Linked DNA regions of Homo sapiens: region 2 is linked to region 1. The links are contacts of gene promoters, found by promoter capture Hi-C in blood cells and fetal thymus (Javierre and others, 2016). All regions are on one chromosome and are shown on one strand. The core of a region is centred on a gene start or on the middle of the fragment in contact, and the rest is flanking DNA. Distances in the headings are between cores, read along the strand shown. Region 1 holds the start of SUPV3L1 (Suv3 like RNA helicase). Region 2 overlaps KIFBP (kinesin family binding protein).

Region 1 (6,099 bases), core at 98-2,597:
GTATTATGTTATAACAGCAGAAAATAAAGACAGTCTCCCAGCACCAAGTAAAGTGAAAGGCCTTGCTTAACACTGGAAGAATATGTCAAAGAATAACATATACTGTGAGTTCCATCACATGTTTAGTGAAAGTACTGTACTTCTGCTCTGAAAAACATATTGTAGTCTATATTTTAGATTTACAATAGGAGGCACCAATGTCGCTTGTTGAAGTGAGACATTTCTCCTCCTATTCCTGGAGACAATTCTGGATAGCATTTCCTCAATCTCCCAGTTTCATATGGTCAGAGGAAACTCCCTTACCTCCCTAATCATCCCGAAACTCACCTTGAAAACATTCACATGCCTCTCTGTCAACGAATCCATCCAAACTTAAGTTTTGCTGAGCAAAGCCCGCTGCCACTAACTGATGCTACCTCTTCTTTTCTCTCTGGAGCCGGGGACACCCTACCTTGTTCTAGACCTTGTCATGTTCTACCTTGTATTACAGTTCACTTTCCATACACGTGTCCTCCCCCACGATACCGTTACGTTTCTTAAGAGGGGATCTGGATCTGAGTCTGGTTCCTCTTGGCAACCACCACACAGCCTAACAGCGTGGTATGAGTCGGCGCCTCCTCAATGATAAAGAATCCTAAAAGGAGTCTCCGCTGGCTTTTCACTGCCACATCCCATTCGGGGGTGGGAGAGAAACAAAGAATGCAAGAAAGAGCGGGCGTCCACCTAACAACTCAAAAAAGTCAAATCTTCCCAACACATGAGTGTCTAAACCATTCAGAGAGCAGGGCAGTAAAAGGGAAAAGGCCGCTTCTGGGACGAGGCGTTAAGAATTAATCAGATACAGTCCTAAGCCGTTTGAGGGGCTCACACACCAGCGAAGGAGGCAGACACTGAGAGGCACGATGACAACACTCGATGGGACCTCGGATCCCCAGGGGAAGGGGATGTAGCTTCCTCCCAACCAGCCTCGGCCCAGCAGACACCACCCTCTGCCGCCCTCAGTAGTTCCCGCACTCACTCTTGTCCAGAGGCCGGGTTAGCTCGGCCCCGACGTCGCCGTCGGCGCTGGGGCCCTGAGGTTTCACAGTCAGGGGCACGAACAAGGACGTGTTTGGTATTTTGGAGCCACCGGAGGCAGAGGAGGAGGCGGTGGCAAGGACAGAAACTTGCCCCAGAACCCCGGGAAAGGGCCCAAAGTGGGGACGAAGGGCAGAGCAGATGGCTGCCCGGTGGCCAGCCTGGCGCCCCGCCGGGAGCCGAGCCCACAATAGGGCACGGGAGAAGGACATCGAGGCCGCAGGTTCTACACTGTCTGGCGCAGCCGCGGACACGGCGGCGGACAGTGACGCGCACCTCCAGCGCCTGCTGTCCAGAAAGACCCAGGCCGAGCAGGTAAGCTGCCCGGGAAAACGCCTGACCGTTAAGGAAAACGCCGTGCCGTGAGGGTGTTCTTTCAGGGAAAAAGAAGATTAGCAGGCAAAACCACTAGAGATAATTCTCGTTCTCTTTCTCTGTTTTGTTGGTGATTGGGACCACCTTTCCCTAAAGAAGGGAAAATAATCAGGCATCTTTGGGATGTCATACATGAGCGGAGGGGGCCTGCTAGTCGTGTCACGTGATGCAAACTAGTACTTTGGTAAGCAAGTGTCCAGAAGCACGTGGGTGAGCAGTGAGAGAATGGGTGGTGGAGCAGCAACTGCGAATGCTCAGGGTACGAGTATGTCTTGCGGACTCAAACACTAAATAGCATTTCCCAAAAGTTTCTTGCATTGTTAACCGTCATTTCCTGATATGATAACGTTAGCGATAATAACTTGATATGCCCCTCAGAAATGTTGCTAAGAAATATTGTTGCACTATTAAACCCCTTGTATTACGTAAGTACTTTTGCTTTAATGTGAGCAGTTTGCGTACATCATCCTAGCAGCTATGACCACATAGTTGTGACCACATGGCAAAAATACGTGCTCTGTACCCCAGCCATAGTTTCGTTCCATTGCATTTGTTGAATACCGTGTTCTCATGTGAGGCTGCAACATGTTAAATTCACAAGTTTAACCCGGGCGTGGTGGTTCACGCCTGTAATCGCAGCACTTAGGGAGGGCGAGGCCGGTGGATCATCTGAGGTCAGGAGTTCGAGACCAGCCTGGCAAACATGGTGAAATCCCCTCTCTACTAAAAATACAAGAATCAGCCGGGCGTGGTGGTGCACACCTGTAATCCCAATTACTAGGGAGGCGGAGGCAGGAGAATCGTTTGAACCTGGGTGCCAGAGGTTGCAGTGAGCCGAGATCGGGCCACTGCTCTCCAGCCTGGGCAACAGAGTGAGACTCCGTCTAAAAAAAAAAAAAATTCACAAGTTTAGCATCTCCATCCACATCTCTTTATACTTACATCATTAAGATCTTACAACTTGAAGGAACGTGTTATGTAATATACAATACTGTATGTCTAATAGGATTCCAGTAACAATTTGCCACGTGCCTTTGATTCACAAAATAATTTTTAAACATCAGGGATACAAGGAGACAGTCCTTTGCTTTCAAAGGTTCTGATCTGGTTTTGGTGGTAAGAACAGTACACGTTAAATAATGCACTTATTACTCTAATAGACTAATGGCAGTTCAAAGAAAGGAGCAATTTGAGAGTGGTAAGGAGATTTCTGCCAGACTTAAAAGTAAAACATAGAGAAGCGGTAAGTAAATTCTAGTCAGTGGAAACGATGTAAGCAGAGGCTTAACTAAGGAAAAGACATACTGAAAAAAATTTAAGTAACAGAGTTAACGCAGACCTAATTCTATGGCTTACAAATAGTGATTATATTTTTGAGAAGAGAAATCATTCATTAGGAAGTACCTAGGATAGACTAGGATAAACACAAATATGCAGGGAGGAAAATTACAACTTTATCAACAGTTCTAGCTGAAGGTGGTAGATTCCTGTGTCTGAGTTATGATGGAGACCATGTATGTGGAATGAGAGGTTTTACAAGACTCCTTAGATAATGTAGTGAGTGACTAAATATGCTAGAAAATGTTAATAAACAATGATGTCTCGTCAGATTTGGAAACTAGGAGAATGAAGGATAAACCAAACGTTTAATACGTAACTGAGGCAAGCACTATGTTGTTCCTTTTAATCTTTTAATATGCTTGACAACAATTTAGAGGTATTATTGTCACCAGGTTAACTAACTTGCCCCAGTAAGTGGTAGAGTCAGATACAAATCTAAATCTTTTTTTTTTCTTTTTTTTGAGACAGTCTCACTCTGTTGCCCAGGCTGAAGTGCAGTGGTGCAATCATAACTCACTGCAACGTCCACCTCCCAGGCTCAAGCAATTCTCATGCCTCAGCCTCCCGAGTAGCTGGGACTACAGGCTTGCACCACAATACCTGGCTAATTTTTGTATTCTCTTTAGTTTCACCATGTTGGCCAGGCTGGTCTCAGAACTCCTGGCCTCAAGTGATCCAGCTGCCTCGGCCTCCCAAAGTGCTGGGATTACAGGTGTGAGCCACCGTGCCCAGCCAGTCTTTCTGATTTCAAAGCAAATAGGTGGGCTTTTTGGACAGGAGCAGCATATTAGGCCAGAATCAACATTTGTACGAGTCTTTTTTTTTCTTTGGAAGGGTGATCGTGAACTCCTGGGCTCAAGCAATCCTGTGTCAGCCTCCTGAGTAACTGGAACTACAGGTGCATGCCACAGCACCTGGCAGTTACTAGTCTTACAGATCTAGCCCAACCCTAGTATAGTTTTACAGAAAAAAAAAATCCTCAAAACTATTTTAACTGTAATTTTGTTTGCACCTCCTTGCAGGTAGAAAATGCAATCTGAATTTTATGATAGCACATACAGGCTTTCCCTTTCAGCCATTCATTAAGTTCTACTATAAACATTGAAATGGGAAAATTCAATATAAAATTTTTGCTTTTACAAAAAAAGATGTCATATCTATACTGGTTATGTCATATTTATAGCAGTAAGTGTAATCAGCACCTAACACATATTAGAGCCTCTATAAATGTTTTATTTTGCTTGTTGAATGGATTAATGCAGTAACTATGTAACTGGTATCCTCCTATACTTTGCCGTAGCACCATAATGATCTTTTGAAAACACAAATCTGGTAAGTTACTCCTGCTTAGAGTCCTTTGGTGATTCTGAATAAATGTTCAGATAAAGCCCATATTCCATCGTATGGCATCCAGGTTCTGTCCTAAATTGGTTGGCCCTATATGCCTCTTCCAGCTTTATTTCTACTCCCCACATCTACCATTCTATTCATGCTGGAACTATACACCAGTTATATCATCGTTTCTTACCTCTGCACCTCTGAACACACTGGGTGCTTCTCTTACATATCACAGGTCCCAGTAGAGGCTCTATCATAGAATGAAAACTATCGTAATTGTGTCTCTGGGTCAGTGGTTCTTAAACGTTAGAGTGCAACAAGATTGTTGGGCCCCATCCCTGAAGTTTCTGATTCAGTAGATCTGGAGTGGGATCTGAGAGTTTACATTTCTAAAACATTTCAGATGATGCAACTCTGCTGGTCTGAGACCACACTTTTGAGAACCACTGCTCTGGATTAAAGTTCCTTCAGGATAGGGCCAAGATAACACTTACTCCATTTTGCATTGCTATAACAGAACACCACAGACTGAGTAATTTGTAAAGAAAATGAATTTATTTCTTTTAGTTCTGGAGGCTAGGAAGTCCAAGATCAAGAGGCTGGCATCTGGTGATGGCCCTCTTGACATAACCTGGTAGAAGGCATCACATGGCCAGAGAGCAAGACCTGTGTGTCAACTCAGGTTTCTCTTTTCTTACGAAGCCACCAGTCACATCATGGGGGACCCACACTGAGAACTTTTATCTAATCCTAATTACTTCCCAAAGGCCTCACCTCCAATCAATATATGAATTTGATGATTAAGTTCCAACACAAAAAATTTAGGGGACACATTCAAACCATAGCAAGCACTAACTGATAGTCTGTAAATATGCTAAATCCATGCATGAATACGGAAATAAATAGAAGGGGAAAGGAAGTGGGAGAAGATAACCTAGGTGGCAGAAATAATACAAGTTAATTTCTTCTTCGCCTTTGCTTTTGCTGTTTTTTGTTTTTTGTTTTTTGTTTTTTTTTTTGAGACGGAGTCTTGCTCTGTCACCAGGCGGGAGTGCAGTGGCGCAATCTCGGCTCACTGCAAGCTCTGCCCCCTGGGTTCATGCCATTCTCCTGCCTCAGCCTCCCGAGTAGCTGGGACTACAGGCGCCCGCCACCACGTCCGGCTAATTTTTTTTGTATTTTTAGTAGAGACGGGGTTTCACCGTGTTAGCCAGGATGGTCTCGATCTCCTGACCTCATGATCCACCCGCCTCGGCCTCCCAAAGTGCTGGGATTACAGGCGTGAGCCACCGCGCCCGGCCTGCTTTTGCTATTAACAAAATCTGGTGTAGGTTTCACAAAAGCACATCCTGTAGATTACTCTCTCATACCTTGTCTACCAAATTTTGTAAGTTGAAGTTTCTAGTATTTTTCTGACATTAAGGTTATCATGATCTAGACGCTAAACTGTTGCTTATCCTAAGTGAACTTTTAAGATTTACTCTTGGCCGGGCACGGTGGCTCACGCCTGTAATCCCAGCACTTTGGGAGGCCAAGACAGGTGGACCACGATGTGTCCAGAGTTTGTTCCTTCCAGTGGGTTCGTGGTCTTGCTGATTTCAAGAATGAAGCTGTGGACCTTTGCAGTGAGTGTTACAGCTCTCAAAGGTGGCATGGACCCAAAGAGTGAGCAGCAGCAAGATTTATTATCGTGAAGAGCGAAAGAACAAAGCTTCCACAGCATGGAAGGGGACCCAAGCGGGTTGCTGCTGCTGGCTGGGGGCTGGGGTTGGGGGGTGGCAGCCAGCTGTTATTCCCTTATTTGTCCCCCACCCATGTCCTGCTGATTGGCCCATTTTACAGAGTGCTGATTGGTCCATTTTACAGAGCACTGATTGGTCCATTTTACAAATCTCTAGCTAGCCACAGAGAGCTGATTGGTGCATTTTACAAACCTCTAGCTAGCTAGAGTGCCAATTGGTGCGTTTT
Region 2 (6,497 bases), core at 448-2,947, 170 kb after region 1:
TAAGAAGGTTGGAAACTGTTCAACAGTGAGCAATAGAATCAAACTATTTTTAAAAATAAACTATTTTTAAAGAAAATGATGAACTTATTAAAAAACCTGTTAAATGACTCAAAGACACATGTTAACTGTGATTTTCTAAGACTAAAGGAAACACTATACTTAAAAAGATGGGTATTTGGCAACATCGCTTATGCATGTAGTATTCCAACCAAAAATATATCATCTGAATCATGGCATAAGGAAACATCACACAAACCCCAGCTGGCAGTAATTCTATGAAATAACTGGCCTATATTCTTAATATTAAGTGATGAAAGGGAAAGAAAGGCTGAGGAACAATTCCAGACGAAAAATGCCTGAAGAGATGTGACAACTGAATGCATTATGCAATCTTGAACTGTATAATCCAGTACTGGCAAACAAATGCTAGAAGGAATATTATGGCAACAACTGATGAAATAGAAATATGCAGTGTAGATAAAAGAATTGTATCAATGTTACTTTTTTTTTTTTAATTTCTTTAAAAACATAGAGATGGGGTCTCACTATGTTGATCAGGCTTGTCTTGAACTCCTGGCCCCTCCCATCTTGGCCTCCCAAAATCTAGCATTACAGGCGTGGGCCACCATGCCTGGCCAATGTTACATTTCTTGAATTTGATAAATGATCTATGATTATGTAAGAAAATATTCTTCTTAGGAAATATATACTAAAGTATGAAAGGGTAAAAGAGCCTAATGTATGTAACCTTCTCTCCAATGGTTCAGAGAGAAAAATAAAATTTGATTCCAAGCGAGGAAAATACTAAAAATTGGTGCATTTAGAAGGGCATATGATAGCTCTTCTGTTCTTGCAACTTTTCAAAAGTTTAAAATAATTTCAAAATAAAACTTTTTTTAAAAGCTATGTAAAACATGCAAAGGTAAACTTACTGTCTTCTGTGGCTGAGATCTTTCCAGTTTGACCAAAAATGACATTAGCAGCTGATAAACAGTGCCTGGCCTCCATAAAGCATAGCTATTGGGGAAATAAACAACAGTGAATGCAACTATCACACAGCTTTATTTGCAACTGATACTTGCATAATTTCTTTTAATATGGGAAAAGGTATAAAATCAGATAAAAATACTACAAAGGAGGCCCTGTAGAGTTGCAGATCATTCAGAAGGTACAAAAGATATATTATCATATTATCTGGTTAAAATGTAACCTCAAAGGTTAAAATATTAATGCCCCCAAACTCTTAATAATAATCCACTCGGATTGAAAGACAACTGCCAACTGAAAGTTAGCTCTCCTTATACAATCAATAGATATACAGGAATGGCTGTCATCCTAGACTTAAACTGTCTCAAAAACTCCTTTAGGTTCAGTCTAAGTAGCCAAAATCCCATGCACAATAAATTCTTAGACTATTTACATTGTGTCAGAAGACTGAATATATATATATATATATATATATATATTTTTTTTTTTTTTTACGAGACAGGGGTCTCACTCTGGCCCAAGGCTGGAGTGCAGTGGCACAATCATAGTTCACTGCAGCCTCAACCTCCTGGTCTTAAGGGATCCTCCCACCTTTAGCCTCCAAGCCTGACTAATTCTGGGGTTTCTCTATGTTGCCTAAACAGGTCTCCAACTCCTGGCCTGAAGCAATGCTCCCACCTTGGCCTCCCAGGGTGCTGGGGTTATAGATGTAAGCCACCTTGCCCAGCCTGAGGATTTAATTTTTATTAGGTTTAGAGAGCCCCTTTACATCCTACTATACAAAGGCAAATAGGATAAACTCAGGTAAGAAGATATTCCTGTGTTCTAAAATCTTTAAACTTTACATACAATAAGGCTTCCCACCAAGTTTTAAAGTCAACAGACTTCTACAGATGAACCTTATGGAACTGCTTTACCAACACTCTTGAAGACTTCATAATTCAATTCCGGGCATGGCAAACTTCTCAAACAATTAGAGAAGATCTCCTTGTTAATAGAAACATTTTGTATTTGTCATGTAAGTCAAAGGACCACCCAGCAGAAGTTCAAAGTTAAAGTCCAACTTTTAGTTGGAAGCCACCCTCATTAAATAGAATGTCTACTTAATATTAGTAATACCTGAAAGGCTTTAAATGGTTGGCTATAACTTTAAAATTGCAGCATTAAATGTATCTTTCCATTATGGCAAATTCAGAAGCCATCTTGAGAATAGCTGGACACGTGTAGTATTAGCCCAGCAACATCTATAGATAAAAATGTGTTAAATCTTAAAAGCCAAAAGAAAGTTAGAGTTTATATAATGAAACTTTAATTATCTCTCTATAATCCAATCCCTTAACATTTATCGTCATTTCAGCTTTGTCCAGATTGGCTCCCTGTGAGCAACCACTGCTAGAACAGTGAGTGTCTTATGCCCTCTAGGTGGCTGGTAAATGTGGGACTTTAGCAGCTGCCAGGTAGGGATTCACCAAGTAGCAAAACCTCATCACTGGAATCAGATGAAGATGACAATGATATAAATGACAATTGCATTTTTAAAAACATGGTTCAAATCCCTCTTTTTGCAATACGACTTAGTTGGTTTTAACAAAAACTTAAAAAAGATTTTGGTAAAAAAATAAAAGTGCAGGGTGTGGGAGGTCTCATGAAAATTACTGCATGCTCCACATAAGTAATGCTTAACAACTTTAAATTTTAATCACACTTTAATATCTAGATATCTTAGTACTGCCAATTTCCATGGAGTTTTAAGTATAAATTAAAGTCACAGTGAATATGTAATTTTAAAGTTGCTAAACAGAATGAATAAGGGGCCTCCAACAGCTGTAAAAAAGATGTCACAAGCGGAGGCACTGGATAACACTTTGGATGAGGACAATGAAATGGATTCATGAGAATTAGTTAACTGAATGCTCTGATATATGCAGTAGCGTTACTTACACACTTGATCTTAGACCAAAGTCCTAGAAGCGATGCTGCAGTCACCACAGCCCTTTCTCTCCTGCTAATAGCTTTTCTGAATGAAATTCTGTGGGACAATACTTTAATCATCGGGCGCATTTACAGAACCAACGCTAACGAAATGCTCAAAAAGGATAAAGGCCCAAGGATAAGGCAGCGGGTTACCAGAGAGATGAAAGAAGGAACTCTGATAAGCAGAGAACTACCAAAATTTCAGAGAGGCTTGCGAATTCGAAATATAAATAAAAGTAATTTATATTGCTGAGATGTCTTATTAAGGATTAATAGGAAAATCTGGTTAGAAAAGGTGGTGTAAAATTATTTTAGCATTAAAAACTCTCAAGGATTAAAGGAATAAATGGGTCAATTAAGAGTACACCAACATGATGTGAGCAATGCTTTTTTAAATTTTTATGAGAAATTCTGATAAACAACTAAGAAGCTCAAAAACATTGTCCCTGTGTAACAATCCAAAAGAAGTATGGTATAAAGACCTAGAACTTTGGAACTCAGCAGACATATTTCCAACATTAAAAAATTATTACAGAGTTAATTCTGAAAAATAACTGAAATGCATCACATGCTTTTATCAAAGCCCACATTTAACAGTCAACTTCCTCAGTCAAATTCTCAGAGTTATGAGATTACCATTACGTAAAGATAAAGCTATATCTACAAGGTAAAATCTGCAATTTAAGGTAATATCTCACTAAAATGAGTTGAGATAGCGTGCCTATGTTAAAAAAAGAATTGGTCTTAGGTAACATGTAAAACAATGATAAAACTCGGTATTTTAAAACTCAAAATAATTCATACAACAAAAAGCTACAAAATTTTAGTACACGGGCAAACTGGGCTGCATTTTCGGCTTCAGTTGTACATCATAAAATACAAGCTACCTGTTTTTAAAAGATAGTATTTTCAAGGTACTACTGGTTCTATTTTTATACTCACTATTGGTACTCTGTTAGATAACTACTTCAAGAAGCTTACCTTATTGATGTAAAACTGTGACAAGGTAGCAGCATTGATAGCCCACTCTATAGGATGGTAGGCATTGTGCTCAAGCTGGCGTTTTAGTGTACTATGGCAATAGTGAGCAGCCTTCTCAAACATTTCCAGATGCTGGTAGACTTGAGCTAGGTAATATAGGTTATGAGTATAAACCTTTTCAAATCTGTAAAGAAAAAATAAACCAATATTTGTGTAATGGTTTACTTGTTTTTTTTTTTTCCTGAGACAGAGTCTCGCTCTGTTGCCCAGGCTGGAGTACAGTGGCACGATCTTGGCTCACTGCCTCCGCCTCCTGGGTTCAAGCAATTCTCCTGCCTCAGCCTCCCGAGTAGCTGGGATTACAGGCGCCTGCCACCATGCCTGGCTAATTTTTGTATTTTTGGTAGAGACGGGGTTTCACCATAATAGTCAGGCCAGTCTTGAACTCCTGACCTTGTGATCCACCCGCCTCAGCCTCCCAAAGTGCTGGGATTACAGGTGTAAGCCACCGTGTCCGGACCATGGTTTACGTTTTATAAGTAAATTTCATATATATTTATTTTGATTATCCCACCAACCCTTTGAGTTGGATTTGTTTATTGTATCTATTTGACAGATAAGGAAACTGAGTCTCAGGTTTGAACAAGGTCAAATAACAAGTAAGTGGTAAATGGAGGTTTTACTCCTGTCAGAATCCACATTCTATAACCTTTATAAGTGACTTTTTGAACAATCACTAATCTATGATATGTGGAAATATTTGCAAGGGCTGATTTCTATACCTACTCACCTTTTTGATCTCTCTTGTTCAGTAAGTTTCTCTTCTTCAGGAAGAAAACGCTCAGTAGGATCAAGAGGAGGACTCCCAACCTACAATTAAGAAAAACAAAAGCTCTTTAAAGTTTTAAACTGTAAACACCAAGTGCCCTCTTCTGGAGGACCTGGAGAAATCAACTTCTACAAGCCAAATACATTTCATTTTTTCCTAGTTCATTTTTATGTTACTCAAGAAGTAATTTTCTGTTTTTTAAATTTTTATTTATTTATTGAGACAGGGTCTCTGTCACCCAGGCTGGAGTGGAGTGGCACAATCTCGGCTTACTGTAACCTCCGTCTCCCGATCCTCCCACCTCAAGCAATCCTCCTACCTCAGCCTCCTGAGTAGCTGGAACCACAGGTGTGCACCACCAGTCCTGGCTAATTTTTATATTTTTTGTAGAGACAGGGTTTCGCTATGTTGCCCAGACTGGTCTTAAAACTCCTGGGCTCAAGCAATCCACCTGCCTTGGCCTCCCAAAGTGCTAGGATTATAGGCGTGAGCCACTGCACCCGCCTCAACAAGTAATTTTCTTAACCATAAAATCTGAGTCAAACAAATAAAAGATACCCTTTTATTTGTTTTAACCAAATGTCAAAAGTTCACATTTGACAAAATTTTACTGTTGTTGCAGTTAAACTGCAAATATGCAAAAAATCCACCAATCTGCTTTTAGACATATATAATTCTTGAAGTATTTTTTCTTTTTTTAATTCTTATTTATTTATTTAGAGATGGGGGTCTTGCTCTGTTGCCCAGGCTGGTCTTGAACTCCTAGCCTCCAGTGATCCTCCTGCCTCAGCCTCCCAAAGTGCTGAAACTACAGGCATGAGCTAAGGTGCCCAGCCTCTTTAAGTTTTTTTTTTTTTTTTTTTTTTTGGAGATGGAGTCTCGCTCTTTTGCCAGGCTGGAGTGCAGTGGTGCGATCTCGGCTCACTGCAACCTCCGCCTCCCGGGTTCAAGCGATTCACCTGCCTTAACCTCCTGGGTAGCTAGGATTACAGACACGTGCCACCACCCCCAGCTAATTTTTGTATTTTTAGTAGAGACGGGGTTTCTCCATGTTGGCCAGGATGGTCTCAATCTCTTGATCTCATGATCCGCCTGCCTCGGCCCCCGCAAAGTGCTGGGATTACAGGTGTAAGCCACCGTGCCCGACCCCTCTTTAAGTATTTCAAATGGCAATTTTGTCTGGTAAAAGGGCTCTTTTAAAAACATGCATAAGCAAAACAAATAGGAAAAATGTATATATTTCTACAGTAGTAGTATTCTAAACTGACCACTAATAAAAATCAAATGAGAGATTTTAATATTTATTCTAATATTTTTTTCTCAAGGAAATAACAAAAGTGTATTACCCCCTTTCAATACAGGGACATTAAAACCAGATTCCATTATTTATTGCCTTGGGCAAGTCACTTGATCTCTTGTGCTTCTGTTTAGTCATCTATAAAATAAGGGTAATAACAGTATCTATCTCATGAGGATTAAGTAATATTTATAAATCACTTACAACCCCCTCTTACGTCTTCCAAAACAGAACTACCTAACCTCTGCCTCATTCTACTTCTATGAGGATAGTCCCATCTAGAAACACACTCTTGCTTTTAACTGAATTCATTAAACTCAAAAAGGAACAACGTCTTTCATAAAAATATGATTTTACATTCTGGATGTAAACACTAAAAGCATCACAACGTGGGCTCCCAGGATTCACATAAAGTAAAAACAACTAAGA

Evidence for each region. Contacts are between HindIII fragments. The CHiCAGO score rates a contact against its expected background, and 5 or more counts as called.
Region 2: a contact is called between a fragment that was not itself captured here and the fragment with the promoter of SUPV3L1 in region 1, in 1 of 17 cell types (naive CD8 T cells). The highest score is 5.4, in naive CD8 T cells.

Annotation. Positions count from the first base shown.
Region 1 is chr10:69,175,482-69,181,580 of GRCh38, reverse strand. It overlaps SUPV3L1 (Suv3 like RNA helicase), which reads right to left and starts at 1,347. Exons shown (of 15, transcript NM_003171.5): 1 at 1,019-1,347. The coding sequence starts at 1,289. RefSeq lists an enhancer at 1,263-1,632. The HindIII fragment of the contact is 6,235 bases long and covers 1-5,844 here.
Region 2 is chr10:69,003,361-69,009,857 of GRCh38, reverse strand. It overlaps KIFBP (kinesin family binding protein), which reads right to left. Exons shown (of 7, transcript NM_015634.4): 3 at 4,733-4,812; 4 at 3,943-4,126; 5 at 933-1,017. Among named protein-coding and RNA genes, the nearest start is that of KIFBP, 18 kb to the right of the region's middle. The HindIII fragment of the contact is 4,484 bases long and covers 1-3,939 here.